Linked DNA regions of Homo sapiens: all the other regions are linked to region 3. The links are contacts of gene promoters, found by promoter capture Hi-C in blood cells and fetal thymus (Javierre and others, 2016). All regions are on one chromosome and are shown on one strand. Each heading gives the region's core, a stretch centred on a gene start or on the middle of the fragment in contact. The rest is flanking DNA. Distances are from core to core; before and after follow the strand shown. Region 1 has its middle 49 kb from the start of RPL37A. Region 2 holds the start of RPE (ribulose-5-phosphate-3-epimerase). Region 3 holds the start of SPAG16 (sperm associated antigen 16). Region 4 overlaps RPL37A-DT (RPL37A divergent transcript). Region 5 overlaps SMARCAL1 (SNF2 related chromatin remodeling annealing helicase 1). Region 6 overlaps SMARCAL1 (SNF2 related chromatin remodeling annealing helicase 1). Region 7 has its middle 8.6 kb from the start of RPL37A.

Region 1 (3,548 bases), core at 667-3,166, 3.3 Mb before region 3:
GCAAAATATGCCAACAACACTGGAGGCCCAGAAGTTAGAAAAGGGAGTTGCCTGAAGAAGAAAGAGCCATTTGGTCCATTTTGGACAAGTTTATGTGAGATGCCTGAACAAGAGCGCTGCGTGTGTGTGTCCTCTGGAGAGTGTGTACCCCTTAGCGGGAGGGCCTGCTTCCCCTTCTATTCCATTATACCCACTCCTCTCACTGTATTCCAGATTCATGTTTCTTAAAAACTCAGCTGAATTCATAGCTAGGTGTGCCTGGAAGGAGGAGATTATGCAAGCTGTCCCGAGGAAGCCAGAGGTGTGTTCGACCCCTGTGTTTCCTGAGTGTTAGTTGGATTCCTGAAGCCATCAGTTAGTGGTTCCCGAATGTTGTGTTCAGGTTCTCCCACCTTTTTTGAAGGAGAATAAGAGTTTCTAGAAAGGATCTGACTCCAAACCAGGCAAAGTCTCATGTCTTAGATGGAGTCAATACCTTAGAGAATATTAAAATTATTGGGCCCAAAGGTAACTTGGAGATATTCTTTAGATGCTCTTAAGAATACTGTTCTTGGATTATGTATATTCCAAATATCTTCTGTGATTCGTCTCTTCACTTTCTTTAAGGAACTCTTTGATAAATCGTCATAGGTACCATGGATGGGTCCTCCTGCGCATGCATTCTGACTCCAAGGAAGCCCACCCTTCTCTGCTGATGCAGTTCAGCATGGCTTTGGCTGGCAAAGTTGTGTTGGCTTCTGGGCACCAGAATAGCAAGCAGGCCCCGAGGCAGCCAACATCAGGAATCGAGAAAGGGAGTTCCAGATGGAAGCGGCAGAGTGTGAAGATGCTTGACTGCAGGCCAGCCCCATGGCGGGGGGAGAGGTGTGGGGGTTTGGAATGCCCTAAAAGGTTCCAGACCAGTGGCAAAGCTGCTAGAAAAGGCTGAGCCCAGACCCAAAGGAAAGCCTTGTGTCCAACCCCTATGTTAAGATATGGGGAATTACAGAACCCCCAGGACTGAAATCACCCTCCCTCTAAGAACATCATGTCCACTGTTCAGCCGTCTGCCAAGATTACCAAAGCAGAATTGTTTTTAACAGAGATGGTAATCCACCACAACTCCTGTGGGTCATTCATTCAGACCCCCTGCCTTCCACTGCCTTCTATGCAATGTTAAGAAGGGAAAGAAGTCCAACTTCACATTTTTCTGGACAATTTGAAGAAACAAACACAGAGGAAATGGTTTACATCAATGAAATGGATAAAAGCTGGAGAACAGAAAGAACTTCTCAGGAGTATGAGAAAGTGTGAGAGAACAATCACAGTCTGAACAGTGAGTCTCGGTATTCTTTTGTGAAAGAGCCAACTACACTAGGCCTCAGTTTCCCCACCTATAAAATGGAAAGACCATTCGCTGCTTTGCCTTACTTGACATTGAAAAGAGTAAAGCCCATTTGAGATGTTAAAGGCCTTGGCATGTTGAAAGGAAGTGTCTGCAGGGATCTATGAACTGAGAGGTTATCCAGCCATGGAGATGGGAAAATGAGGACTGTTCACCCTAGAACATCTTCCAGGGGGACCTAATGAGTAATGGGGCCAGAGTCATTTGTAATGTGCCACCGGACTGTGCTCATCCTCTTGGCTGCCAACACTCCTGCTTTCAGATGATAGCCCACTTTTTTCCATCAAAGGAACCACGACTTGACTACTCCCAAGGCTTGGTGATCCCAAGCATTCCAAGACCACCTGCTACAAGCCTCCATCAGAGCTATCAAGCAGCAACTGCAGACTCCTCCTGGAGGCAGGAAACAGTCACAGGCCCAAAGGGAGGTGAAGAGAGATCACTGAGGTGCTAGCTTAAAGCCTGGGAAGTGTGAAGCACCATCTCAACATGTAGGTTTCAACTGCAGTCTCAGTGAGCCCTGGAATCCCACTGGGGTGTCTTGGTCAGAGATTGGAGGAGGCCAGAACTGGTTCCGCATCTCCCACCCCTGCCTCAACCACAGCATCTCTGATGTTATTGGTCTTAAATATTGGGATGTTTTGTTTGCAAAAAGAGTTCTATGACTCTAAAAATGTTTATGAAACACTTGTCTGCACTAGTAAATTTTATTTTTAAAAAAAAGCATACAGAAGAAAAACTAATTGCACTTAAGACTTTAGAATCATATATCACATCCAACAGAAGAATTCTACTAGGAAAAATGCCCAAGCTGTTGCCCCCAAACTAACGTAACATGCTCATAAATGGCATCTGCCTTTATATTCTTGCTATTTCTTTATTTAGCTTTCCCCATTCTCTCAATTCCTAAGTACTAGAACAGGTAGAGATGCTGCTATTTAGGAAAATATTCCCTGAGTATCCTCCTCTAGGCCACTGCAGACCCTTCTCGCAGCTCTGTTTTGTGCATCTTCCATACTTAACACTTAGTACTGCAGGTAGATCTAGACTATGAACACCTTGAGGACAGGGATCATGTCTAATTCCATCAATCTATGTGGCCCATGTTTAAGCACAGTGCCAGTAACTCAGGAGGAGTTTGAGAGACCTGAATGAATGAATGAATGAATGCATGAATGAAGACACTTCTGCACAAATGTATAATTTCCTGGTTTCTCTTCTGTAAGTAAGTTAACATCTTCTATGTTTTGTTTTGTTTTTTCTTCTAGGTCACAGAGGGCTAATGCTGTAAATTCTCTCTCAGGGGAAAGCTGGGCAGACACACTTGGGAACATTTAAAAAACTAGGTTGGCATTGGAGAGGAAACAGCCAATATATTTAGCCACCCATGGCATGCCAAGGCCTTATCGAGACAGAAATAGGCACTGTAGGAGGAATCTCAATTAAATATTTTTCTAAGCAGTCAGCTCTGGGCTTTGCCTGAACATGGATAGAGAGCTGGGGTGAAGCACAGGACAGAAAGCCAAGAAGATCTCAGTGGGGCTTCTGAATCATCCTGGGGCTTAACTGCTAGCAATGTAAAACTGGTGACCCCAGGGGGCAGGGGTGCTGGCCTACCTTCCATGTCCAAGGAGCAGGACAACCTCCCTGCAGGCACTTTCCAGAATCCCACACATTTGGGGGACCCATCCTCTCCGCCATACCTACTCTTAAGTGGCAGCAAGTATCCGGAATATTCTTCCTATGAGCTTTACCCAACTGTTTCCAATAGTCAACACTCCCTAAGAATCGGTCTTATCCAGAAAGTACTCCTGGAATGACTTGAGGAGAAACACAATGACGCTTTGGGCATAGAATTCCACCCTGCAGCCTAGTTATCTTTTCTTTGTTAAAATATGCAGCACTTCAATCCAGAGACATAGGGACAACTGCCCTGAATTGACTGGGGTATGAGGATGGGCTCCAGTGCTGGGCAGGGTGAGAGTGGGAGGGGGTACCTGGCGGGGGTGCAGACAGTCCGGTGCAGAATGCACGTATGAATAATAACAAATCTCTCTTTTTTTTCATATGTGGGCTTTTCCAAATATGGAAAACAGCTTTTCCCACTTAAAAATGTATCATCAACTTTTTCCCATGTCATTGCATGTTCTTTTACAATGTGATT
Region 2 (3,758 bases), core at 1,039-3,538, 3.3 Mb after region 3:
GGGAAGAGGAATCAATAAAAAACAAATACTTCATTTTTTATTTTTTTGTTCCCAAAACTCTGATCCATGGTAAATACTTTGCCTTACTGAGCTCAGTCTGCCATAGAGCTGCAAGGGGACAAAAGTGACTTCTGAGAGACTTCTCCTATTATGATTAAGCTATTCATTCATTCGGCCAACAATAACTAAGCACCTTATGGTGCTTTTCCAGCAAAGAATATATAGGTGAGCAAAAAGAAGATAAACTTGGCTTTCAGGAAGCTTATAGGGTAGCAGGAGAGACATGAAATAAGTTAACAAAAATAAGTATACAGTTAACAGAAATAAATACACAAATTATTAGTTGCTTTTTTGAGGCCAAACAATGTCTTAGTCATTCCCTGTAAGCCTAGGAACCACAGAAAGCATTTCATTTGAGACAACACAAGCTGTTGCATTGCTTCCAACCCTGGCTCCACCATTTCCTAGTTATGAGACCACTGGCAGATGACTTAACCTCTCTGTGCCCAATTCCTCGCTGTCAAATGCTGGTGGTAATAACACCACCAATTTCAAACGGTTGTTTGAGTTAATTCACAAAAAAACTCCAGAACAGAAACAGTCAAGTGCTCATAAACATTGCTACTATGGTTATCATTAATAATCCTGACTGGTGAACCGAAACAATTACTTTCCCCAACCATTAACTTACTCAAACATAGTTTAATTAAAACCAAATTGCTCAAATAGACTCACAAATATACACATAGCTGTTCCATCCTGTGACCCTCTAGGTATTTTCTCAGGCACAAAAATGTAGCTACTTACCTTTGAGGTAGACACTCAGGGTATTATTACCTGTGACAGTTTAGGGCTTTCAAGCAAAGATGTCAAAAATAAAGTATATAAGTATAATTACATATAATGGCCAATTAAAAGCCAACCTTTGTGAGAGGTAATATTTACTAAACTTTTTACACATTTGGCCTATTATTTTTAGTACTCTATGGTCAAAGTTTTGTCATTATCAGTTGGGTGGACTCCTAAGGTAACTGGGTAAAATGCCAAAGAGAAACAATACATTTAACCACATAGAGCAATGGAAGATAAAACTCTTCAAAGCCAGATTAACATTAAAAAGAAAAGGAAATCATCACCTTTAGAAAATAACACCAATTTGCAAACTGAATGAGGGAACACAGGGTTTTTACCTATTTAAAATAAATTTATTTTTCCATCCCCACTCAAGATAATGGTATTTATGATTTTTATAGTCAGTTAACAGTGGGGCTCAGAGAACTACTTGGCAAACCTAGGAAGAGCCAAGTTGCAAGTCTGTCACAATCTTCTGTAATCTTGAGGGAGTCTTACTGCTTTCTCTGGGGTTGTTTCCTCATTCTGTAACCAACTTCAGAAACTAATATCCTGACTCCAAACAATATTATGTGCTGTAACTACGGTGCTTAAAAATTACTTACAAAAAACTGACCTCCCTGAAGAGCAGGGTGCCTGAAGAGAAAATAGACAGGAAAATCAGAATTGTAATAATGATGTAATTAACAATTATAGAGAACTTAATATACGCCAGGCACTGTAAACTTCTCATGTACTCGCTCATTTCATCTTCCAAGATGCCTAAGCGGTAGGTTCTGTTAGTAGTTCCATTTTTCAAATTATGAAACTGAAGCTCAATGAGGTTAGTGGCTTGTCCAAGGTAACCCAGCAAGTGGCAGAACTCGGGAACCTAACCGCAGGTGCCAACTTAAATCGTTAGAGAAGTCTGTTTCCCCAGCTTTGCCACTAACTAGCTATATGAGCTTGGGCAAGTCATGCTTCTCCCCTTGGGCCTCAGTTTCTCTAGCTGAAAGTGAAGAAATGTCCTAAAGATTTAGGTCGCTTCCGGGTCCTAAGTGATGGAAGACCACACGTTACGTGGGGGGAGGGGAGGAACTGAGGTTTGGGACCCGGCCGCAACCCAGGATACCGCGTCGGTTCTGCTCCTGCTAGAGCCTCCAGGGCTCCTACCCCACACCCCTTCTAGCATCGCGTTCAGAGTGAGGCGCTCGGTGGTACAGGGACGCGGTACATCCAACAAGCAGTCAATAAAGGTGCACTGATCCGCCCCGCCGCGCGGCAAGCCCGACCGGAGCCCGGAGGAGTTACCCGTCCATTACGTCCAGGTGCAGATAATCGGCCCCAGAGTCTAGCATCCGGAGGCACTCGGCCCCTAAATTGGCCAGGTCGCTGTTGAGGATGGACGGGCCAATCTTGCAGCCCGACGCCATACCGCTGGCTCCCAAAAGCAAGTTACCCACGAGTCCCCGGCAAGGCTAGAGCGTCACCCCGATTGGGCGCGCAGTTTTGGCCCCGCCCCTTCTCCGTACAGGCTTCCGGATTCTACCGGAAGCAGCCACTCTGCGGTGAGGAAGTCCCGCCTCCTCCTGGGGTGGGGCGCTGTCAGCCGTCCGCCTGGGGCGGGGCGGGGCACACGGGCCTCGTACACCTGATTTTGACCTTCCTTCTTGTGCTGTTTGGATCTTAACGTCCTCGCAGTACTCAAGGCGTTTCTTAACCTTTTTTCACTTTGCTTCTCCTGCAGTTCCCTCTCCTCGGCTCTTGACTTAACATCACTTTTTGTTTCTCCACCCTTTGCATATGCCTTTCTTTCCTCTCCAGCGCCTATGCTGGCCCTTTAAAACAACAATTAAAAACCTTTCTTCCTCGTATTTCTCCTAGAGCTCTTCTTTTGAGCTGGAGGAACCCTGGCTCTGCCAGATACTAGCTGGGTGACCTGGCAAATCACTTCTTAACTTCGGTTTTCTCATCTGTAAAGACAGTGCCCAGCTTTAGGGTTGTATTAAATGAGTGAAGCCAGGTAATGCGCCCAGCAGGATGCCTGGTGCTCAGTACAAAATGGTAGTTATTATTATATTACCCTCTTTTTCTGCCTTTGCAGTTCCTCCTTACCTTTTTTGTTTTTCCCTCTGTTGAGGCTCAGAAAATGATAGCCCAAAGTGAAGGCCTCAGACGCAACAGTGTTTCTCTGACTTCCTGCCCTGCTCTCTTCTCAGTCTCATTCTAGGAGGCAGGTCATAGAAACTGGAGCCCATCTTCCCTAAGAAGAGTCATTGAAACCGGAACCCCCTTTCCCTGAAGCCAGACACAAAACCCAAAAGCATTACTCTAACTTTCCTCCACCTTTCTGTGTAAAAACTGGCCATAAATTATTTGACCCATCTCAACTGTAGGTTATAAAACTCCTCTTCTAGAGAAGGTTCTATCCCATATCCAGGAGGAGGGAATGCTGCACAGAGAGGCCAGGAATCTAAACTAGACTGGCCAAGGCCAGGTCAGTCTATTAGCATTAGATCGCCTATTTTGTCCAATCGTATTTCTACATGGCTGTCTATACTTTGTTGAACCTAAGTATAAAAATGGGTAATCACCCCTGTACCTTTGGGTCTTCATTCTGAAGGCTCCTGTGTCAGGTAAAACTATAATCAAATAAGTTTTTATGCCTTTTCTCCTGTTAATCTTCTTTCTGTCAGTGATTTTCAGCAAACCTTTGGAGGGTGAAGGGAAAGTTTTCCCTTGGCCCCTACACCTCTCCAATGCTCATTCACAAATTGTGATAGGTTTGTGTGCTGTTCACACACAGTTCAGAAATGGATGAGTATCCTGATGCTAAATGTGCCTAGGGTCAGGAAAAGAGACAGAAGTAAAACCACTTGGCGGGGATAAATGGACTTAGCAAGAGCAATCCTTAAGGGGTCAGAATA
Region 3 (3,650 bases), core at 1,103-3,602:
GAAAAGTGGGAGATTTCCTAAAGAATTCAAGTCAACTTCTTTCAAAGTCTTGCTCGATATTGATAGCTCATTGTCTAATGTACTAGGAGCATCTGTTGAGTGATAAATAAGGGAAATCCAGGCCAAATGCAGTAGATTAGAAGTGATTGAGTATATGTGCGAAGCAGAGGACATCAGATTTCTGATTCATCTGTGCATATTATAACTTTTATTTACCCACCATGATAGCTCAATTAAATTACCTGAAAGCAAAGACTTTAAACCAAAGGAAGTCTCACTTTGGCAACTATCATAATTGCCTTAAGAAACAATGTCAAACAACATTACACAGGCAACTCTTAATTAACCATGTGAAGAGTGCCCAGGGATACAGGAATAATTGGTATTCACAAGTAATCCTCAAACTTCATTTCAACTGAGAGTTGAAATGACTAAACCTCTTCCCTCAGCATGGAATATAGCAAAATAAACTGGTTAAATGTTTAACTGTGTATCCCCTGACTACCATTTGGTTAAAATACAAAATAGCAGTCAGTCAACCAAAGAAAGAAGAAAAGCAAATGGGTTGGATAATTCACACAACGGTTAGTAAAATCCTAAAAAGTTACAGTTGCTTATATGTGTTAAAGTTCAAATAAGTGTGATTATTTGAAAAAGTCTTTGTAAGACAGGTTTGCAAACTGCTACATCTTGGCAGGTGTGACTCAGTGATCTCCCTGCACATTAAGTAAACCTGATTTTCATTGCTGAAAGTTGTGTTATGTTAGACTCCTACCATTTATTTCACAAAGATGTTTGCAAAAAGTTACCTCATTGTGTCAATCTCATGTTAACAATTAAACTATGTGTTCACGGAAATAATTTTAATGCAAACAAAATTACAAGATGCCTGGTTACCATTCAGTAGCAAGGGCACTGGATATAGATAAGCTTAGGAAGAATTATGAAAATCGTTGTTAAAGAGGAATATCACTGGAAAAGACTGCCTGTTACATCTACGAAAACAGTATAAAACCTCATTTATGACACTAAAGCACCCATATATTTCTTTCAAATTCATTTCAAGCGATTCAAATTTCTATTCCTGTAAAAGTCGTTTTTGCACCCAATAAAATACTACATATTTTCTTTAATCTTTCAGCTAAATTCTTCAAAGCTCTCTGTAGTGTGGATGTGTACTGAGCCTGAGTCAGGACAGGTTAATCGGCTTGTCAAAGCTCACGAAATGAATCATTGCTGGATTTCTGAAATCTTGAATTAAACCTGGAGAGGATTACAGTTGGACAAACAAATAAGATTTGGCAGATTTTGGAGTTTCCTTGGTATCTTTAAGAACTGAACAGATAATCATCTCTTTCTTACCTCCCTGAATAAAGGAGTTACATGTCTTTTTCTCATGAACCCTCCCCGTCTCCCTAGTAGGAATTAATCTATATAACTAGAGGAAAGAAGTTCTAAAGCCTTACACAAGAAATAGTGGACCTAATTATCCACACATTGTTATTCAATTTTTCTGGTACTTCCGATAAAAATCGCTAATCACCATCTGCTTTATTCCTAATATCTCTGAGCTGTGTAGCTCACCAGATCATTATTTATTTGCTCAAGAAAAAAAAGCAACTATACTATTAGTATTTATTATTAAGTAGTCAAACTTGGAACTACTCAGGAAGATAATGCTATCAAAACTAAGCATTTAAGCATTAACTGGACCATCGAACAGGATCGTGGGTTGGGTATTCTGAGCTTCAGCTCCTTAAAGTCCAATGGCAGAGGTCTTTCCCTAGTCTCCTAACGTTCCTCCGTTGAATTTATTGGGACGGCTTTCTGAAAGATTGAGGGCTTATTTAGGAAACCCATTATTTGAAAGGAGGGTTGAAGCAATTTGTTGTGCTGTCTTAACATAAAAAGCAACCCTCCATCCAAAATGTACTGAGTGGTTACTAAGTATGAGGCCTTGGAAGGTCTCCCAACTCTTCTAACAGGTACAGGACACCCTGGGCTACTAAGGGCGAGAAATTCAGTGAGTGGCTCTCAGGAAGACTGTGGTGGCAAAAACAGCACCTTGAAGTCCAACAGAGGCTCCTCCGGAGTGGCCCCAAGGCTCAAAAGGCGCCGCCAGTGGGAGGCCCTCGCCTTCGTCCCAACACCCATTACCCGCCAGCGCAGCGGGCCGCGCCTCCACGGGAAGGATACGTTCCAGGTAGTAGGCGCCCTCAGCCGCCACCGCGTCCGCCGTGTCCCTCGCGTCCCCGGCTGCCGTCAAACCCATGCCCAACGCCTCTTCCAGGACCCTCACGGCGGAGCTGGGCATCCCTCGCTGAGCAGCCATCTCTGGCGCTTCGGGCCCCCACCCCCAGCAGGCCCACAGCCGTCCCTAAGGGCAACAGCGAAGACGCTACCCAACGGCCCCCGGGAGCTCTCGCGAGATTCCGGCATCTCTCACCCCGCCCCACGGACCAGCCCCGGGCACGTAAGGGTTACCGGGAGTCCAGGGAGCTGTCGCCCTCCCGCGCCTCCCAGTTACCGTGGCAACGATGTTGCCTAGTTAACGCGAGAGCTCGGGCGCAGCTCTGGGAGCGGACAAGATACAGTAAACAATTGGCTTGCATTGCACCTTCCTACCCAAGCAGCTTGGTTTTCTTTCGCTTTGACCCTGTAATTTCTTTCCCACTTCGTTGTCGTCTCTGAATTACCTTTCTCTTGATTCTTGCCCATTAGCATCCTCCAATTTCAGATGTTTGTAGATCCCCAAGTGTTCCCAGGGAAAACTACTAGAAAAGGTGAGTTCTCAACACCTGGAATTTTTTAAAAAATGAAAAAATAAAGTTCTAGAAATCATAATAGAAAGACTGACCCAGGGGAGCTACCAGACGCTCCTCAGATGCTTAGCAATGAAGAACTATGGTGTTCAGCTTTGTCAATTCCTTTCTTGTGATCTTTAATGCATTTAGCTGGACATCTGTTTTGAGTTTGGTTCCATATACTAAGACTTGGAATAGTATTTGTAGCATTGATTCTCGCCAAGGTAAAAACAGTTGCATAAAAATTATGAGCTACAAATTTGGTCCTGACAAATGTATGCAGTTGACACTTGCCCCATCATGTATAGTCTTATTGCTGAGAGGATCTTCCTCAGGTTATATCGCGTATGTATCAGAAGCAAATTCAAGGCCCTTTTCTTTGCAAATATTTTTTTTTCCCTTAACTTTTATTTTAGGTTCAGGGGTACAAGTGCAGGTAAGCTCATGTCGCAGGGGTTTGGTATATAACTTATTTCGTCACCCAGGTACTAAGTGTAGTACCCAATAGTTATTTTTTCTGATCTTCTCCCTCCTCCCACTCTCCTCCTCAAGTAGGCCCCAGTGTCTGTTGTTCCTTCTTTGTGTCCATTTGTTCTCATTATTTAGCTCCCACTTACAACTAAGAACATGCAGTATTTGGTTTTCTGTTCCTGCATTAGTTTGCTAAGGATAATGGCCTCCAGCTGCATTCATGTCCCTGAGAGGACATGATCTCATTCTTCTGTGGCTGCATAGTATTCCATGGTATATGTGTACCACATTTTCTTTATCCAGTCCGTTGATGGGCATTTAGGTTGAATCCATGTCTTTATCATGAATATCAATGAACACGCATGTACATGTGTT
Region 4 (3,249 bases), core at 48-2,547, 3.2 Mb before region 3:
GGCATATGGAACATTTTATTCTTGAAAGAAATCTGAGGTGCAAGCATCATTCCAAATTCATCTTGTGCTGGAGACAGAAAGGGTTTATTGGGGCGTGGTTCCTTCACTTCATGCCTCAAGAGAGCCTGCTCTCCACAAAGCCCCTGGGGGCCACAGACAAGAGTGGGGCCTGCACAGCATTGTTGAGAGTCCCGTGAGGCCAGAGCCACAGGCAAGAGCTGACCCAGCAGGAAAGGTGAGGCCCTCCAAGGCAGTCCTGGATGCCCCGAAAGAATAAGAGTGTGGGAAATTGACTCAGGCAACCCCTCTTTCCTTTCCTCCTTCTCCCCTCAAATTCCATTTAAACTCGTTCTAGTTATTAATGGACCCGTCACAGAGCATTTACACAGGAAGTGCACACATAAAGACTGGAGTAGTTACTTGGCAACTCTTAAGTGGGATAAGGTATGTTAAAAGGAAAACTTTCAACAAATTAAATTTAACAGAGTTTAATTAAGCAAAGAATGATTTGTGAATTGGACAGCCCCCACAACCAGAAGAGGTCCGGAGCAGCTCCAGGGTTGCCACATGGTTGGTTCACATTTATGGACAGAACAAAGAAAGTAACATACAGAAAAGGGAAGTGAGGACAGAAAGAGCTGGATTGGTTGCATATTTGCCTTATTTGAACACAGTGTGAACGGTTGGCCACCTGTGATTGGCTGACATATGGCTGCGGTAATTGCCTGAGACTTGGCTACTTGTTACAAGAGTGGGTCCCAGTCTGTTTACCAATCTAGTTAGGTTATAGTTCACTCTGCACAGAGAAACCTTTAGGCGGACTTTAAAATATGTAACAAGGCAGCACTGGGTTAAGCTTAATTTAACGAGTAGCAGGAGGCGGAGGTTGCAATGAGCTGAGATCGCACCATTGCACTCAAGCCTGGGCGACAGAGACAGACTCTGTCTCAATAAATAAATAAATAAATAAATAAATCATAATTTAATGGGTAGATCAATATGAAACAATGGCCAAGTACATCATGTGAAGTGAGTCATTTTCAGTATGAAGAATTTGATACAGTTTTTGTAAAAACAGATTCTATGTGTATTTTACATATATTTGTATGCATAGAGATAAATTACAAATGGCTTTATCTCAAATTATTTAGTTATTACTTCTAGGAGGTAGGGCTGAGGGAGGGAGGGAGGAGAATGCAGGACTCTTATTTTTGAGCTTATACTTTTCTAGATGAATTTTTTTTTTTAGACAGAGTCTCTGTCTGTTGCCCAGGTTGGAGTACAGTGTCACGATCTCGGCTCACTGCAACCTCCGCCTCCCGGGTTCAAGCAATTCTCCTGCCTCAGCCTCCTGAGTAGCTGGGATTACAGGCGCCCGTCACCATGCCCAGCTAATTTTTTTGCATGTTTAGTAGAGATGGGTTTTCACCATGTTGGCCAGGCTGGTCTCAAACTCCTGACCTCAGTTCATCTGCCGCCTTGGCCTCCCAAAGTGCTGGGATTACAGGCGTGAGCCACTGCGCCCAGCCTTAGATGTATTTTTACATCCAGTTCATAATATTGGAAAGAAGGCACTGCAGAGCAGTAGGTGGAAGGACCGTCTTTTCCATAAGTGGTGCCGAGCTAACTGCATATTCATATGGAAAAAATTAACCTTGGCCTTACCTCACCCCATATACAAAAATAAACTGCAGGTGGATTGTAGATCTAAACATTAACGGCAAAACACAAAAGCTTCTGCAACATACTATTTTCTTTTTCTTTTTTTCTTTCTTTCTTTCTTTTTTTTTTTTTTGAGACGGAGTCTTGCTCTGTTGCCCAGGCAGTCTCGCCCTGTCGCCCAGGCTAGAGTGCAGTGGCACGATCTCGGCTCACTGCAACCTCTGCCTCCCGGGTTCAAGTGATTCTTCTGCCTCAGCCTCCCAAGTAGCTGGGACTATAGGCATGCACCACCACACCCAGCTAATTTTTGTATTTTTTTTTTTTTTTAGTGGAGATGGGGTTTCACCGTGTTGGTCAGGTTGGTCTCGAACTCCCGACCTCAGGTGATCCACTTGCCTCGGCCTCCCAAAGTGCTGGGATTACAGGCGTGAGCCACCACACCCGGCCTCACAACATACTATTTTCATAACCTTGGGGTCATGGTTACATGGATGTGTATTTTAAAATATTTTGTTAAACTAAATTGTTTTATGAACTGTTCTGTATATTATATTTTGCCCCCAAAAAAAGGAGTTAAAAAAGAGAAAAAGAGCCTCAAAATCTGTTGAATAGGGGGTGGGAGAGAAATGTGTGCAGAGGATCTTGCAAAATCAGATAACTGTTGATTGTCATAATGCCCAAAAGACTGTGACTCACAGGCTTCTTAATGCTTTCTGCTATGGTCAGGAATTCATTTCCTTCACTGAGACTGCACAGGAAAACACAAAACCAAAACAAAACACAGGTAGAAGAGACTTCTCCAATTAACCCTCTTTAAACTTCCGAGCCACTTTTTATGTTGATAATTCTGAACTTGGTGAGAAGTGGGAGGATGGAGTAAATATAAGGTTGGACTTCATTCTCTCCCCTTTGCAAAAAAGAGGATAGAACTTCAAAAAGCGTTGAGGTTCTAACAGACGAGAACGAACAGACAAGACAACACCTCAGAGCCAGTGGTGTGGGGATGACACCTCCTGCTCAATTTCTCAGCTCTCCCACTGATCTAGAAAAAGGCTCCTCTGAAGCCAAGAAGGAAAAAGACATGATTAATTCAAGCACAAGTGGATCAAGACTAACAGGATTCTTTGCTGCCTCTTAGAGGTTTCCTTGATGCCAGCCCTAGAGGCAGAAATCAACCAGGATCACTCAGGAAACAAGATACCACTTAGTGACCCTGGTGAGGGAAGGCAGAGACCAGCTCCATGGGCCAGAGGGGACTTCTAGTAAAATCCTGTAAGGGTACAATTGATGGCAGGGACAAGAGTGGGAGGAGATGGGCCTAGATTTTCTTCATTTCAGTTGACGCTTCCAGAAAACACAGTTCTGGGGGTCTGGACTGTGCTGTGAAATGAAGGAGGAAAAGGAGTTAGTGTGGAAATATTAATACCACTTTAAACCCAGTGGTATTCACTCTCTATATAAATAAGTCCAAGTGTCTTTTGCTGAATTATACAGAACTGGTTAGGTGACTCTTAACAAATTTCAGAGTACATATGGGATGGTCTAACTTAAAATAGGCTACATGGTATAAATAAAATTTGCTTTGGA
Region 5 (3,256 bases), core at 66-2,565, 3.2 Mb before region 3:
ACTTCTTCCCTCTGCCTGGGGCCTCAGCCTCACTCCTAGCTCACCTCAGTGCCAGCATCTTCTCTAGGGCCAGCACTTGACAAGGACTTTCCTTTTATAGCTCCAGCACTGTGCCTCATGCAGAGCTGTGACCCTGGGCAAGAGGGAAGCCGGCTCTCAGAGCTCCACATACCTACACATCAGCCACTAGTCCCCTTACTGGAAAACGATGACTTCGGATAACCATAACCATTAAAACTAGATTTAAAGGGTAAGATGACCATTTTCATCTTACCCCTGAGGTCATTCCAAGGCCATAGTAAGAAACAGAAAGACTAAAATCCATTCCCCTGGCCAGTGCTCTTCTGACCATATCATGGCCAGAGAGAAGGAAGAGAAAGATAAGTGTCAAAATCAGGGTGAGAAATGGGTGGGCTGGGAGGGAAGAGATAATACATACCCGTTTGGCATCACAGTAGCGAAGTCCAAAGGCATGAAACTGGGGGAAGAAAGTTGGCTTGACTGCGATGATCTGCGTGTAGAGCTCTGCGGGCCGGGACATGGCTGGTGTGCCCGACAACAGGATCACCCTCTTGGCAACCTAAAAGACAAACAGCCAAAGGTGCTCTGAACACAGGGAGGAGCACACAGGAAATGTTCAAAATGCCCCAGTGAGGGAGGAGCTGGATGCCCCCAGAAAAAGACCGCGTGCGTGTCGCGAGAACCTAATGGCATTGCCAATGCAAGCAGTTAGATGGCATCTCCTTTTCTTTAAATCCTCCCTGCCTGCCCTCTGCTGAGCTCTATCCTAGTACTTAACATATTACATTGAATTATAACTTTTCTGTCTCCCTTGTTAGACTGCAAGCCTCTTGAGATCAAGGACTGGGCTGTATTCACCTTTATTTTCTGTAGCATATGCCTGACGCCAAGTAACCAATAAATGTTCACCGTATGCTGCAAAAAATTCACAAGGAAGCTAATTAGTATCCTGGAGAACACAGAGTAAACTCAAAGAATCCAGCATTGGACAGGAAGTGGGAGAAGACAGTGGCAGGTCTGAACTTCCTCCAGAGTGGATCTGTGACATGCAAGTTGAACTCAGATAATGACAATTACAATCAGCCCTCTCCCATTCCCAAGAGGAAGTGTCAGGGGTTGCCAATGTATATGTCTCCATGTGACTTTCTTTAAAGGAAAATAAGGCCTTTACTAACTCAGCTTCACAATGCTTCAAGCCTACAGATCCTGACTCAGGCTCATTTTGCAGTTATTAACAATAAGAACCTTAATAGGTGATACCTGGTTCCATTTTCCCTAAACTCAGCCCAGATGTGCAGCAGCCTGCTTAGCATGGGCAAGATGGGAAAAAATAGTTGGTCAACAGCAATGACAGATTCCAAGTTCCTCACTACCCAGACACCAACCTGACCCATGGGCATCAGACCCAAAGATCCCACCTCCTATTATTAAGATGGGAAAGAGGGTGAGAAAAAAAAAAAGAGACTCTTCCTACTGTATTAGAACACAGAATCACTACAAATTACTGGACGTAAAATTCACTTCAGCTCTGGGAACGGACCCTACCATGGAGCTCAGTTGTCTAGAAACAGCTTGTTAACCACTGTAACCTTGAGTTAATGACAGTAATACAAGGCAATTGCATGTAATAAATCACCTAGGAGAATAAATTAGGTTTACAGATGGATACACTGCCTCATAAAAATAAATAAATAAAGGTGCAACAGTGAAAAGAAAAATCATTCTTTATAAATATACAATATACACAATTATCTAAACGCATTTGTGCCCTCACAGCAATCGCCAATATCTAATTCCATTATGATGGGAGAGCTATGAATGTCTCCAGCTATAATTTTCCACAGTTCAATTACCTAGGCCTTCTAACTTCCTGCACGGTTTAATGCAGACTCATTAAAATAACAATGAGCTGACGTTGGTAGCATCGCTTGCCTTGGCTTTAAGATCATTTCAATGAAAAAGGGGAAAATGAAAAGTTTTATCAAAAAGAGAAAATCTCCCCATCACCCCAAACCTATTCTTCATGTCACTGTGCTGGCCTGGGGATGGAGCCAGGGCAAAAACAGTTCATGAATCAGATGATGGAAATTAACTCCAGGGTCTTCTGTCAGATACTTATAGGATGTAGTTAGTATTAAATCGCTTCTCCCATACACTCCCTAGACTAGAGAGTGATGGGAGCGTTGCCAATGGGTGTTTGTGGGCATCAAAAAGGCAGAGGCAGCATTACAAAAAAAGAAAAAGTCCAGCTTTGAAAAAGAAACCAGAATGGCATCTCGTCTGTAATGGGGTGATTTGGCCTGCTCCCAGCTCAGCCCCAACATGTGTGTATGTCATCACGATCACCCACAAGGGCTTTTAACACATGCCCAGCTGCAAAGGTGTCATATGTCACCCTCCACTTCTGAAAACTTCCAAATCTAGGAAAACAGAAATCTATAAAACTACATAAATCAACACCAAATTGAACAGTTTACAGTGAACTCCCCCACCTAAGGGAGAAAAGCAACACCCAAGAAATCGAAGATAGAACAATGTAAAAAAATACTTTCTGTGTGGTGTTAGAAAGATAACATGATTCACATGTGCAGACACTGTTGGGATCAGATGACCCTCAAAGATAGGCTTAGTTTCTTCGTGGGTTGGGGGTGGGAAAACCCTGCAGAATAGGCTGAGTTCGTGTATACATAATTCGCCACAGAGAATTCAATGTCGTAATTGAAAGTGGATAATCTATACATAGTTTTAAAATTAAGAGTTGACCGGGCATGATGGCTCACGCCTGCAATCTCAGCATTTTGGGAGGCTGAGGCAGGCGGATCACCTGAGGTCAGGAGTTCGAGACCAACCTGGCCAACATGGTGAAACCCTGCCTCTACTAAAAATACAAAATTAGCCAGGTGCAGTGCTGCACACCTGTAATCCCACTACTCAGGAGGCTGACGCAGGGAATCACTTGAACAGGGGAGGCAGAGGTTGCAGTGAGCTGAGATCATGATCATACCATTGCACTCCAGCCTGGGTGACAAGAGTGAAACTCTGTCTCAAAAAAATAAAATTAAATAAAAAATAAAATTAAGAGCCAAGAGAATGTTCTACTGTAGAAAAAAGAGCTGAAGTCTTAAGTTTATATAAGAAGCAGTCCAGAAATTCTTCATCACTTTATGTGATCTCTTTTTTTTTTCCAATTGAGCCAGTAACTTGCTTTACTGAATTATTCTGATGGGCTGTAACA
Region 6 (3,740 bases), core at 1,113-3,612, 3.1 Mb before region 3:
TTAAGTCCATTTCTCTCCTCCACTAAATATAAGTACCAGTTATTTCTGGAAATAGTTTCCACAAAAATAATCACCATGAGAAGAAATTAGGGAAGGTTGATGGCATTAATACAAAACAGACTGTCCATATTGATGCAGAAATACATTTTATACCTCCAAATTAAATCTGAGTATGTTGATTTCTACACACTTCAGGAGGCTGAGCACTCCTTGTGCTTTCAGAAACCATTTTCATTTTAATTCTAGTGATCTTCAGAACTCAAATACCTGATGAAAGCTAAGAAAGGGCTGATGAACTGGCTGGTAGAAAAGGCAGGGCTTTGTAAGCGTTATGTTCCTTCGGCCATTTAAGAGGAATAAAACCAACATCTACTCTGTCTCCTACCAACTACTGTCTCCAAAATCCTATGCTGCTAGTTCAGCCATCTCAGTGTTCCTGAGAAAGACACCATTCCCTGACAACGACTGTCTCTACTGTCCTTTCCCTGGTACTAGGAGATGACAGACGTGTTGTCGGCTTCGTGAGTCATCTAGAAGTCATTTCTGTAAAATAGCTCTTTGCCAGAATGCTACTAGCCACATAGCAGAGATGCTAATGTTTTCAAATAGCAGCTAACAAGACAAGATTGTTGAGAACCCTTCTGGACTGACAGCAAGGGGAAAACAAAAGGACTTATGCCAATTTCACTGGGGGCAAAAGGCCTGAGTCACTTAGAAAAGAGAGAGGAGGAAAGCTTAGATTCTCCTTACTAAAGAAAATAACTCCCACTGCTTCACCAATGAGCATTCACGTACTCAGGTCTTATTGTCATTTCTTCATCAGTTTCCTATGCACACGTTCACTAACTCAGGGTCATCGATCTAATTTCACTCATGAGGAAGGACAGCATGGGGTGAGGAAGGAGGTGCGCATTCCCCAGGTTCACAGTACTGGCGGAGAAATCAGAACTAAATTGGAACTGGGCTCTATTCTCACTGCTTCCACTCCCAGCTTCTTAGTTTAGCTGGCTTCTAAATTCCATAATGGGTCATTTTACAAAGGCAGATGGCAATTTTACTCTTATTTCTGTCACTGACTTTACTGTAACCTTGCAATGCTCCCAGTAAGGAAAGCCACTGTTTCCCTTCTCTGGGCCCAACCTTTTCTCAGTCTTATCTTCCGTGAGACACTGTCATGATGAGATAGCAGGTAAAAACTCTAAATCTAGAATCTTCACTCAGGATCTATGGAATCATCTTTATCAAGTGCAAAATCTTATTTGTGGCCATTATGTGCATTTTTTTCTGGGTGAAGAATCCATTCTTTTCATCAGATATTTCAAGGAGTCTGTTGTCTGCAAAAGATCAGGAACCACTCTACAATGCTATGTGAGTCACAAGTCATGGTTTTTCAACACTACATTTATCTACTAATGCTGTAAATGTCCTGCTTTTTGTCATTCCATAAAAGTCAAAGACTTTATAGCTAACATGTGTGTGTTTCCTGGTTGAAAGACAAAAGCGAGAAGGAAAGAACTCACTTCTATTTTTCTTAAAAAATTCAGCTTTTGTGGCTGGGCACGGTGGCTCACGCCTGTAATCCCAGCACTTTGGGAGGCCAAGGTGGGAGGATCACTTGAGGCCAGGAGTTCAAGACCAGCCTGGCCAACATGGCAAAACCCCATCTCTACTAAAAATACAAAAATTAGCCGGCCATGGGGATATGCGCCTATAATTCCAGCTGATAACAGCAGGAGGCAGACAACTTCCTAGGCAGACAGGGGTGGGTCCACAGTGAAACCCAACCTTTAAGCCAAAGACAGACTGAAACCTGAAAACCAGGCTGTCAGTTCCAGGTGGAGTCCACAACCCAGAATAAGAACTTCCTCAATGCCTTTTAGCCAATCGAATGGTGCTTTTTCCAGGCCTGCCTATGGACCAATCAGCACACACACCCCCATTCTGAGCCCATAAAAACCCTGGACTCAGCCACATGTTGGGACTACCCACTTTGGGTCCCCTCTCCACTAAGAGCTGTTCTGTTGCTCAATAAAACCCTTCTCTGCCTTGCTCACTCTCCAGTTGTTCATGTAACCTCATTCTTCTTGGACGCAGGACAAGAATCTGGGACCCGCTGAATGGCAGGTGAGAAAAGGGCTATAACACATTCTTGGTCTGCTCGCCAAGCTGCAGGCAGTGACATGCTCCTGTCTGCCGAACCACAGGAGTGAAGAGTGGCAACCTTTCTGGGAGCCCAGACCTTGGGACTCCCTCGGCCAGAGCTGTAACATGCTGTAACACCCCCTTAGGGCTCCATGGTTGCTGGTGTCTTCAAGTTTTCAGGCACCAGCACATTCCCATCATCCAGCCGCTGGTGCCCAAGGCAGAAGCTGCTTGTGGTATGCCTAGTCCAGCTGCAGCCTCATACAGAGCTGGTGCCTGTGCCACAGTCTGGAGCTGCCCGCTCTGCTGCAGCAGCTGGCGCACCTGGCTATGTGCTGTGGCCAGACTCTACACTCACTTGCTCACAAACCCTCTGCTGCTCCATGCCTAGCTCGCCCTCAGTGGGTGTGGAATCTGGACTGGTAGCGTGAGCCGAGCGCAGCCTGCCAGGTCGAGTGGGCAAAGCAAGCCCAGTGGCAAGCCCAGCTGGCAAAGTGGCACCAAAAGGATTCTGTGTACAGCTACTTGGGAGGCTGAAACAGGACAATCGCTTGAGCCTGGGAGGCAGAGGTTGCAGTGAGCTGAGATCATGCCACTGCACTCCAGCCTGGGTGACAGCGAGACCCTGCCTCAAAAAGAAAAAAAAATTCAGATTTTGCCAAATAATTCCCTCTAAATCACAAGTTCCAAATAGTAGCAGCCAGAGAGTCTCAAGATCACCGTGAGCCATTCTTTCTGCTTCAGCCAGCATTTATTAAGTTACCATCTCATATTCAAACGTAATCATGTAGTTCACAGCAAGTTTTGCTCAAGGAACCAAAGGCTCTTCCTTTATATTTAATTCCTATGTCAGGAGAGCAGATAGAGATTAAAGACCACCGCTTTTTTTACTAAAGGGACAATGGGACCCAGAATGTTTAATTATTTACCCAATGTCACATAGTAAGTCACATAAGAAGGAGACAAAAGGAAGGAACCCAGTTTTTCCCTCACATTGAAGCCCTAGCCTGCCAGGGAAGATGGCCAATGACTCAGAGCTCCCAGGGTTGGCTCGTGTCTGTCCTGGCCTGATTGGTACCCACAAATGACTCCTTCCTTGGTTTGGGAGGCCCAACAGGCCATCAGGATTAGGAGAAAAGCAGAGGAACATAAGCCATGCTAGCTGCAAACCCAATGCAGAATTGTTACAGCCAGATAGATAAGGGACTGGTATTCTGGTACAGTCTGAGATATGACCATATTTCCTTTTTCCAGGCATATTAGAATTTATTGCCCCATCTAAGCAAAACACAGAGAAGAAAAATGATAAACCCAAAATGGCTTCCTCTTCTTGCACTTATGCTATCTGTACACATATCCCTTTTCCTTGGTCAGTCTGTAAAGTGCTTGTTAAAATGCCTAAGTCCCTGGCCTTGACTTCTGCCCCAAACAGAACTCTATTATGAAGTCCATTCCCAGTGATACTCTCCTATCTTTCTTGATCATCCCATCCAGTTCTAGAAGTACACTGAGAGCCTATTCTTAGAAGTAATCTATGGTCACTTCCACCTAAGCTAAGCAATCCTAGCTCACTTCTGATTCCTAAAGTCTATGTACCC
Region 7 (3,414 bases), core at 508-3,007, 3.2 Mb before region 3:
CCCCTTTCAGTAGTACCAGCAATTGTGCTTCCTCTGAATGCCTAAGACATTATAATAAAAGTTTTACAAATACTTAAAAATAAGTAGGCTGGGGGCAGTGGCTCATGCCTGTAATCTCAGTACTTTAGGAGGCCAAGGTAGGTGTATCACTTGAGCCCAGGAGTTCAAGATCAGCCTGGGCAACCTGGCAAGACCCCATCCCTACAAAAAATACAAAAAAATTAGCTGGGCATGGTGGCACCTGCCTATAGTCTCAGTTACTCAGGAGGCTGAGGTGGGAGGATCGCTCGAGCCTAGGAGGCAGAGGTTGCTGTGAGCCCAGATCATGCCGCTGCACTCCAACCTGGGTGAGTGAGAGCCCATCTAAATTAATCACCAAAAAAGTAAATTGTAATAGGATATGGGGACCACAAAATGGTCAGACCTTTTCAGGACATTTAAAATCTCCTTTCTAGTACTGTCATTTATTAAATCATAAAATAACAGAGGACCCATTTTATCCCAGACTCTATTATGGGGAGTAGATTGCAAAAATGGCCATAATTCTGTATCTACATGCTTTGTAATTTGTAGCTTGTTGCATCAAGAAATAGAGTATATCTTCTTACTCCTTAAATCTGGATTCGCCTTGAGACTGACTTCTTTGTACTATACTGCACAAGTAATGATGTGTGAGCTTCAATTACCCTGCCACTGCCCTGTGAGCCAACCCAGGATAGCTGCTGACAGACACATGACCCAGGCACACTTACTGCTCCAAATGCCACCCATCAGCCAAATATGAGTGAGGCCATGCTAGACCAATCAGTTCCCCACTGACCTAACAGCTGACCACAGATGCAAGAGCAAGCCAAGCCCAGAATGACCCAGATTATCAGAATGACTTTTGAGTAATATTAATGCTTATTATTTTCAGTTCTTGAGTTCTGAGGTGGTTTGGATTTAGCAGTAGCTAATACAAGAGGACATAAAGAACTAAACCTAGTCCCTACCCACAAGGACTGCACAATGACAACCTATTGAAGTTTAAAATCTTCAACAGATCAACCTCTGATCTTAATAGAATGTAGAGTCCTAACAGAGGGCAGGCTTGACATTTTTCACATGTCTCTCTGGTGCCATCCTCCTCTCTTCTCTATCTTGATCTCTGCTCCAGGAGGCTGACCTCTATGTACTATGTGAATGGGTTCTTTTGCCTACTGGTTGGGCTTGGTCACTGGAGAACAGTAGCAGATAAGGAGAATGAGGCTGGGATATTCATCCCCTTGGGTCACTCTCTGCATGGCCGTATTTCATTGGTTGAATCACTCTAAGGTCACCCTTTCCACCGGACTTTCCTTAACAATTTCCAGTAACTACTCACTCTCCTCCCTTTCAGGCCACTCTACTATCTCCTATGGTTTTTCCAACATCCTGCACACACTTTTGTAAATGTCTTTATAAATACCTTGTATTTTTGTAATTTGAATGTGTCATCTGTTCCCTGCTACGACACTGACTGATATATTACCCAACCAGGAAAATAGCTGGGGAGTCTGGGAGTTCGGGTATGCCAAAAATAATATCATAAAAAGAAACTTTAGTTGTTGATATGGTTTGGATCTGTGTCCCCACTCAAATCTGATGTTCAATTGAAATCTCCAATGTTGGAGGTTGGGCCTGGTGGAAGGTAAATGGATCATGGGGACAGTTTCTCATGGTTTAGCACCACCCCACTAGTGCTGTTCTTGTGGCAGTTCTCACAAGATCTGGTTGTTTTTAGTGTGTGGTACCCCCTCCTACCCACTCCCCCGTCCCTACTCTTCCCCCTGCTCTAGGCTCCAGCCATGTGAATTCCTGCTCTGGCTTTGCCTACCACAGTAAAAGCTCCCTGAGGCCTCCCCAGCCATGATCCTGTGTAGTCTGTGGAACTGTAAGCAATTAAATCTCTTTATAAATTATCCAGTCTCAGGTATTTCTTTATAGCAATTCAAGAATGGACCAATACGGTTGTGTATAAAAGTATTGGCTGGCTGTGGTGGCTCATGCCTGTAATCTTAACACCCTGTGAGGCCACTCGCTTTATGTCAGGCGTTCGAGACCAGCCTGGCCAAGATGGTGAAACCCAGTCTCTGCACAAAACTTAGCTGGGCGTGGTGCCACATGCTTGTAATCCCAGCTACTCAGGAGGCTGAGGAGGATCACTTGAACCCAGGAGGCAGAGGTTATAACGAGCTAAGATCACACCACTGCACTCCAGCCTGGGCAAGAGTGAGACTCCATCTCAAAAAAAAAAAAAAAAAAAAAAAAAGTGTTTCCCTTTTACTTGCATGCCCCAAACTTCAGCTTACTCTGGTCTAGTGGGTGTAGACAATAAACCATGTAGCTGTAGATCCATGTGGTCAGTCTCCTACTTTTTTCACTGATTATTGCCTGGAAGGAACCATGAGGCACAGAGGTAGAAACTCGCTCTTCTAATGCTCTTGTAAATGGGCCTAAGATGGAAGTGATGTTGGCATCTTGCTGCTTACAGCATTCTCCCAGTCACTGCAGGTCCCAACCTTCTGTATCTGGAAAGACTGGGTGCAGCCAACTCAATGGGAAAGCAGAACAGAGAAGCTACAGGAACCAGCTCTCAGCCACCAGGAATTAAACCTGTCCTCAGTTCTTGTGGTTTCCGTTTTTTCAGAATGGCTTTTTCTATCTCCAGTCAATGCCCTCTAAGCAAATGACACCATCCTTTTCCCATAGTGCTTGGAACAATCCTTTTATGGTTCCTGTGCAAATGCAGCCAATACATCTCATTTTCTCTACAGCCTGAAGTAAGCCAGAGACTAAGTAATCAAAAATTACACTAAAATACTTAAGAGAAGCCCCTGAGAAAATAGGGTATTATTTGATCCTTAGCACAAATGTGCTACAATTTAACCCATGACAAACAGGCCCATACAACAATTTCCCATAGACAATATAAACAGGAAAGGCAGATCCTATGGAAAAGAGGAAAATAAGCCTTCCTCTTACAAGGAATATCCTAAGATTCCAAAGAGATTTGAACCTCAAAAGTGTTTCATATTCTGGGCACGGTGGCTCATGCCAGTAATCTCAGTACTATGGGAGGCTGTGGCAGGTGGATTGCTTGAGCTCAGGAGTCTGAGACCAGCATGGGTAACATGGTGAAACCATGTCTCTATGAAAAATACAAAAGGTAGCCAAGCGAGGTGGTGCACACCTGTAGTCCCAGCTACTGGGGAGGATGAGGTGGGAGGACGGCTTGAGCCTGGGAGGCAGAGGTTGCAGTGAGCTGAGACCACACCACTGCACTCTAGCCTGGACGACAGAGCCAGACCCTAACTCAAAAAATAAAAATAAAAAATAAAACAAATCAGGTGTGTATGCACATACACACACACAAAATGACTTCAAAGTATTTTC

Evidence for each region. The method cuts DNA at HindIII sites, captures the fragments that hold promoters and counts their contacts. A CHiCAGO score of 5 or more calls a contact.
Region 1: a fragment that was not itself captured here is called in contact with the fragment with the promoter of SPAG16 in region 3 in 1 of 17 cell types (total CD4 T cells); the score reaches 5.0 in total CD4 T cells.
Region 2: the fragment with the promoter of RPE here is called in contact with the fragment with the promoter of SPAG16 in region 3 in 4 of 17 cell types (activated CD4 T cells, fetal thymus, total CD4 T cells and 1 more); the score reaches 7.7 in activated CD4 T cells.
Region 4: a contact is called between a fragment that was not itself captured here and the fragment with the promoter of SPAG16 in region 3, in 4 of 17 cell types (non-activated CD4 T cells, total CD4 T cells, naive CD8 T cells and 1 more). The highest score is 9.7, in non-activated CD4 T cells.
Region 5: a fragment that was not itself captured here is called in contact with the fragment with the promoter of SPAG16 in region 3 in 1 of 17 cell types (naive CD4 T cells); the score reaches 5.0 in naive CD4 T cells.
Region 6: a contact is called between a fragment that was not itself captured here and the fragment with the promoter of SPAG16 in region 3, in 1 of 17 cell types (naive CD8 T cells). The highest score is 5.4, in naive CD8 T cells.
Region 7: a fragment that was not itself captured here is called in contact with the fragment with the promoter of SPAG16 in region 3 in 7 of 17 cell types (naive CD8 T cells, non-activated CD4 T cells, total CD8 T cells and 4 more); the score reaches 15.5 in naive CD8 T cells.

What each region holds. Positions count from the first base shown.
Region 1 is chr2:216,546,503-216,550,050 of GRCh38, reverse strand. No RefSeq gene overlaps it. Among named protein-coding and RNA genes, the nearest start is that of RPL37A, 49 kb to the right of the region's middle. The HindIII fragment of the contact is 5,361 bases long and covers 1-3,548 here.
Region 2 is chr2:210,001,168-210,004,925 of GRCh38, reverse strand. RPE (ribulose-5-phosphate-3-epimerase) reads right to left here and starts at 2,288. Exons shown (of 6, transcript NM_199229.3): 1 at 2,143-2,288. The coding sequence starts at 2,264. RefSeq lists enhancers at 2,020-2,189, 2,230-2,279. The HindIII fragment of the contact is 5,690 bases long and covers 264-3,758 here.
Region 3 is chr2:213,283,166-213,286,815 of GRCh38, reverse strand. It overlaps SPAG16 (sperm associated antigen 16), which reads right to left and starts at 2,352. Exons shown (of 16, transcript NM_024532.5): 1 at 2,197-2,352. The coding sequence starts at 2,332. SPAG16-DT (SPAG16 divergent transcript) reads left to right here and starts at 2,607. Exons shown (of 3, transcript NR_161186.1): 1 at 2,607-2,783. RefSeq lists enhancers at 1,950-2,029, 2,100-2,149, 2,190-2,319. The HindIII fragment of the contact is 3,357 bases long and covers 933-3,650 here.
Region 4 is chr2:216,489,381-216,492,629 of GRCh38, reverse strand. The region is part of intron 1 of RPL37A-DT (RPL37A divergent transcript); the gene reads left to right. Among named protein-coding and RNA genes, the nearest start is that of RPL37A-DT, 7.7 kb to the left of the region's middle. RefSeq lists an enhancer at 4-63. The HindIII fragment of the contact is 878 bases long and covers 859-1,736 here.
Region 5 is chr2:216,444,342-216,447,597 of GRCh38, reverse strand. SMARCAL1 (SNF2 related chromatin remodeling annealing helicase 1) reads right to left here. Exons shown (of 18, transcript NM_014140.4): 11 at 440-580. Among named protein-coding and RNA genes, the nearest start is that of SMARCAL1-AS1, 33 kb to the right of the region's middle. The HindIII fragment of the contact is 4,716 bases long and covers 1-3,256 here.
Region 6 is chr2:216,423,973-216,427,712 of GRCh38, reverse strand. All of the region lies in intron 6 of SMARCAL1 (SNF2 related chromatin remodeling annealing helicase 1), which reads right to left. Among named protein-coding and RNA genes, the nearest start is that of SMARCAL1-AS1, 13 kb to the right of the region's middle. The HindIII fragment of the contact is 3,251 bases long and covers 737-3,740 here.
Region 7 is chr2:216,505,764-216,509,177 of GRCh38, reverse strand. No RefSeq gene overlaps it. Among named protein-coding and RNA genes, the nearest start is that of RPL37A, 8.6 kb to the right of the region's middle. The HindIII fragment of the contact is 5,377 bases long and covers 1-3,414 here.